2 separate regions of the Homo sapiens genome follow, and region 2 is linked to region 1. Evidence: promoter capture Hi-C in 16 types of primary human blood cells and fetal thymus (Javierre and others, 2016). All regions are on one chromosome and are shown on one strand. The core of a region is centred on a gene start or on the middle of the fragment in contact, and the rest is flanking DNA. Distances in the headings are between cores, read along the strand shown.

Evidence for each region. The method cuts DNA at HindIII sites, captures the fragments that hold promoters and counts their contacts. A CHiCAGO score of 5 or more calls a contact.
Region 2: a fragment that was not itself captured here is called in contact with the fragment with the promoter of MYRF-AS1 in region 1 in 1 of 17 cell types (neutrophils); the score reaches 5.4 in neutrophils.

Annotation. Positions count from the first base shown.
Region 1 is chr11:61,756,414-61,759,113 of GRCh38, reverse strand. It overlaps MYRF-AS1 (MYRF antisense RNA 1), which reads left to right and starts at 1,450. Exons shown (of 4, transcript NR_026882.1): 1 at 1,450-1,625; 2 at 1,751-2,031. All of the region lies in intron 1 of MYRF (myelin regulatory factor), which reads right to left. RefSeq lists enhancers at 1,066-1,709, 2,220-2,269, 1,710-2,353, 2,354-2,700, 1,863-2,700. The HindIII fragment of the contact is 8,901 bases long and covers 1-1,585 here.
Region 2 is chr11:62,064,567-62,067,266 of GRCh38, reverse strand. All of the region lies in intron 1 of LINC02733 (long intergenic non-protein coding RNA 2733), which reads left to right. Among named protein-coding and RNA genes, the nearest start is that of LINC02733, 16 kb to the left of the region's middle. The HindIII fragment of the contact is 8,726 bases long and covers 1-2,700 here.

The DNA of each region.
Region 1 (2,700 bases), core at 201-2,700:
ACCTGTGCCCATCTGTGCCTACACACCGGCGTGGCCCCACGCAGGCACACTGCCAACACACACACATATATGTAAGGGCACACCCTGCAGTCAGGTATCCACTGACATGCGCATGATCACGTACCACCTGCCCCCTACTCACACATACACAGTACTGACACACAGTGGCATGCCCCACACATATACCCACACACATGCGCACACCAGCGTTCATCCGTGTGCCTTCATTCATTCAGCAGTTATTTACTGAGCACCTGTTATGTGCCAGGCAAGCATAGTGCCCAGCTTTGGGGCTACAGCAGTGAGCAAAAGGGACAAAAGCCTTGCCCACATGGAGCTGACATTCTAGGGAGCAGAGTCAGATGACGAGAGCAGCAAAATGCCTAGCATTCTAGAAGGTTCCAGATGGCGGGGACAGCCGGTGCAAAAGCCCTGAGGTACGAGCATGCCTGTGCATGTTCACACCTCAGCACACTTCACAGGTGTATATGCCAGGACACGCATGTACACAAACACTCACTGACCCGACGACAGGCCCAGGCCCACAGGCACAGCGTCACATGCATGGGTTAGGTTAGTGGCCACCCAGGAAGAGCTCCCACCTCCTCTTCTTCCCTCCAAGCCCCCTCCCCGCCTGCTGTCAGACCCTCCCTAAGCAGCTCCGGCTGGAGCCAGGCCCCACTGAGTGAACTCAGTGTCACAGGCACAACTTCCCTCCTCCAAGCTAGCAGGGCAGGGGATGGGGATCCCCTTGCCCCAGCCATAGAGGGAGAAGAGAGGGGAGTGAGGGAGGCCGGAGGGAGATAGGATCCTCAAACTCCACAAAGGAGAGACAGAGGCTGTGGTTGTGCACTCCGGTGGCTGCACGGACCCCGGTCAGCTGGAGGGAGAACTTCCCTCACTGATGCGACCTGGGGCACAGGGAGGACAGAATGTCCGGGAGCCCCCTCCATACTCTAGGCCGGCAGGGGGCTCCGGACCCAACTGTACTCCCCACCCAGGGGCTTTGCCCCTCCCCCCCTCACTCCAGGCCTTGGCACTCGTGGGATCTAACTGCTAACATCACCCAACCTTGACCATGTGAGTGAGGGCTCTGAGGTCTAGAGAGGTCAAGGAGGCTGCACGGACATCACCTGGCGTGGCCACCCGTGCTGGAGCCACCCCTCAGCATGTCAGGAGGAGAGGCCCCTTCCCTGCCCATCCCAGGCTGGCACAGAGCTGGGACCCAGGCTCCAGTCCCAGCTCTGTTGTGGCCACCTTGAGGGAGCCTGACACATCATCGCCTTCCTGTCCTGCCTCACAGTCCCCCTCAGAAATGGGAGGCCGTCACCCACGCTTCCACTGCACCCCAGGACTCCAGGAAGACAACGTGCAAAGAGCCTGGGTGCAGCAGATGAAGTCACAATACAGCCAAGCCCCTCCTCCTTGCTGGCAGCAAGAACAGAACCCAAATCTCAGAGGGGGAGGTGGGGCGGGCCCCACTGGATGTGCCAGGGACCAGGACCAGGCCACGCTGGGCCAGAGCTGTCATGGTTCAGGCCTTGCACACAGAACCACAGAACATGCTCAACAAGCCCCCTAAGCTTAGGGGCACTGACCTACCCTGGGGACCAGTAATCTTCAAGGTAGGGCGCAGAACACCTGCCATGGACCAATGGAGTGTTCACCAGGCCAGGCACAATCTTACCTAATCACCCCAGAAACCCTGGGACGGAGGCCCTGCCATTACAACTGCACTCCCGTTTTACAGATGAGAAAGCGGAGGCACAGCGGTGCCCTGATACGGCCAAGAGAAGCACTGTGGGTAAGCAGGAGAGCTAGGAACAGACCCCAGCTGCCCTCGCTGGCGAATGCACAGAACCATTACATCATCCTACCCCGAGACCCAACCAAGAGGTACCCACACCCCGTGGCAGCCGGGGCTGAAGGCCTGGAGATAGGAGAGGAGGCCCCACATACTCCAGCACCCAAGGCAATGAGAGAAACTGAGGCCCAGGAAGGTGCTAGGTCCGTGAAGAGGAAGGTGGGAAGGTAAGGCAGGCTGCCTGGGTAGGGCGGGGCCACCCAGTTAATGATTCAGTTAATAATTTCTGCTCCCAGTTCCTTATCAGGGAGGGCAAAGTCCAAGGGTGGCAGCCAATGAGCAGCTCTGCTGGGCTGTTACCCAGCAGCCTCTGCTGCCAGGGCCCTCCAGTCTGTAACCCCTTGGGAGTTGGTAATTGGGGAGTCAGGCCCCCAGGGAAAAGGCCATTCTGCCCTCAAATGCCCTCCTTGGCTCTACTTAAGACCCCAAGGAGCACTCTGTCCAGCCTTCCAGTCTCAGGAGAGTCCCTGAGGCCAAAGGGTTGGTAACTGCCTGTTTCTCACCCCTGCACTGACCCCAGGCCCTCCAGAGAGGTGCTTTCTGGGGTGCGTCCCCCACCCCCGCCGCCTCTGTTCACATACCCATTGTTGTCACCATTGACCCGGAGAGCACTTCCTGCCCACCCCCCACCCCTGCCCTGCACTGGGTGCTGGGGACATGGGGATGAGTCAGACCCCCTACTACCATTTCCTCCCCTGCCTGGGCTCAGGAAACCCTGTGCCTGGCCACCCCTCCCATCTACTTACTCCCTGGGTGCACCAGGGACAGACAGAGACAGGCTGACACGGGCCACAGTGCCACCCCCATCACGAAGCCCAGCTCAGCCCCCGGATTCC
Region 2 (2,700 bases), core at 128-2,627, 310 kb before region 1:
CAGTCCTGTGACCTCTACAGTGAAAAATCAATCACTTTGTCCAGCCTTTGTTTTATCTACCTGGTATAGGTCGCATTGTGTCCCCTCAAAAGATATATTCAAGTCCTAACCCCAGTCCCTGTGAACATGATTTTATTTAAAAATAAGATCTTTTCTGGCTGGGCGCGGTGGCTCACGCCTGTAATCCCAGCACTTTGGGAGGCCAAGGCGGGTGGATCACAAGGTCAAGAGATTGAGACCATCCTGGCCAACATGATGAAACCCCGTCTCTATTAAAAGTATAAAAATTAGCTGGGCGTGGTGGCGGGTGCCTGTAGTCCCAGCTACTCGGGAGGCTGAGGCAGGAGAATCGCTTGAACCCAGGAGGTGGAGGTTGCAGTGAGCCGAGATCATGCCATTGCACTCCAGCCTGGGCGACAGAGCGAGATGCTGTCTCAAAAAATATAAAAATTAAAAAAAATAAGATCTTTTCTTTCCTTTTATGTTTTAGTTTTTTTTGAGACAGGGACTCACTCTGTCGCCCAGGCTGGAGTGCAGTGGCGAAACCTTGGCTCACTGCACTCTCCATCTCCCAGATTCAAGAGATCCTCCTGCTCCAGCTTCCCAAGTAGCTGCAACTATAGGCACGCACCACCACTCCTGGCTAATTTTTGTATTATTTTGTAGAGACAGACTTTCGCCATGTTGCCCACGCTGGTCTCGAACTCCTGGGCTCAAATGATCCTGCCACCTTGGCTTCCCGTAGTGTTGGGATTACAGGCATGAGCCACCACGCCCAGCCTGGAAATGTGATCTTTTTTAGCTGAGTTAAAATAAAAAAAGAAATAGGATCTTTACAGATGTAACCAAGTAAAAATAAGGTAATACTGGATTCAGGTGGGCTATAACTTCTTCTTTGTAAGAAGAGAGAAATTTGGTCACAGAGGCAGAGACACACACAGAAAGAACACAGCCATGTAAGATGAAGACAGAATCAGGGTGATGCAGTTACAAAGCCAAGGAATGGTATGGATAGCTGGCAACAACCAACAGCTGAAGACTCCTAATTGAGGAAGGAGTCTTGCCTGGAAATTTTGGACTTTTCACCTTCAAAGCTATGAGAGAATAAATCTGTGCTGTTTTGTTTGTTTGTTTGTTTGTTTGTTTGTTTTGAGATGAAGTTTTGCTCTTGTTGCCCAGGCTGGAGTGCAGTGGCGCAATCTCAGCTCACCACAACCTGTGCCTCCCAGGTTCAAGCAATTCTCCTGCCTCAGCCTCCCGAGTAGTTCAGATTACAGGCACCCGCCACCATGCCCAGCTAATTTTTGTATTTTTAGTAGAGACGGGGTTTCTCCGTGTTGGTCAGGCTGGTCTCGATCTCCCAACCTCAGGTGATCCACCCACCTCGGCCTCCCAAAGTGCTGGGATTACAGGTGTGAGCCACCACGCCCGGCCTAAATCTCTGCTGTTTTAAGCCACCCAGCTTGTGGCACTTTGTGACGGCACCCAGAGGACACTAATACAGTCCCTAAATATACCTTCCTTTGAACTCCTCTGGCATGCATCAACTGTGTGTGCAGTTGGATGCTGAACTAACCATAGAGACCAGCATGTATCTTCCATGTGCTTCTCACATTCCCACCACCAGCTCACTAAGGGCTGGATGTTGTCGTTTGGTGTCTTGGCATCACCCACAACAGTTTGTGGAGTGCTGGTGTGAGAGAAGTCCCCTTGTAAGTTGAAATTGAATGAAGAATGGAAATATCAACAGATCAACTGCTAGATAGGGGCTACAAGGCAATGACTCAGATTCATGATAGATCTAGGGGTCTTTGCTGCCTGTGAAAGCCCTGAGTTGATACAGATTTGGGTTTAATTTCGGCCTTCTCCATACTTTATCTTTATCCCTCAAATTCAGGCTTTAGCTGCTGTTCTCCAATTCCTCCAAGGCTGGACACTGTGGAAAGAGTTTTTAAGGCTTCTTCTCTGCCTGATACTTCTGGTCTGAGTGCTGGTGAGGGAGGCACCAAGATGGAGGGACGTTAAAGGGCTTTGTCCTTGATCCTCTCTTCATTTGCTCCATCGGTAGGTGGGTATCCAAGTCTGGTGGTGTTCATCAGGGCCTTCCCAGGCAAAGGAGGAAGGAACATTGGAAGAGAAGATCAAGGGGGAGAAATAGCCCACAAGAAAGCAGAAGAAATAGGCTGGGCGCTGTGGCTCATGCCTGTAATCCCAGCACTTTGGGAGGCCGAGGTGGGTGGATCTTCTGAGGTTGGGAGTTTGAGACCAGCTTGACCAACATGGAGAAACCCCATCTCTACTAAAAATACAAAATTAGCCAGGCGTGGTGGCAGGTGCCTGTAATCCCAGGTACTCCGGAGGCTGAGGAGGAGAATCACTTGAACCCAGAAGGCAGAGGTTGTGGTGAGCCAAGACCAGGCCATTGCACTCCAGCCTGGGCAACAAGAGTGAAACTCAAAAAAAAAAAAAAAAAAAAAAAAAGGAAAAAAGATAGCAGAAGAAATAGAAAGCTCCAGGGAAAAGTGAAAACTTCAGAGCTGGTTAGTTGGTGTGACATTATGATACATATGTATTGGTTCTCACCCATGGTTTCTGGCTCATAACTCCCATAGCCCTTGTCATAGTCTTTTGTGATAATATTGGGGTGTTTTAGGCCTCTGACCCAGCCTCAGAAAACAGAATCTCTCTCCCTGACCTTCT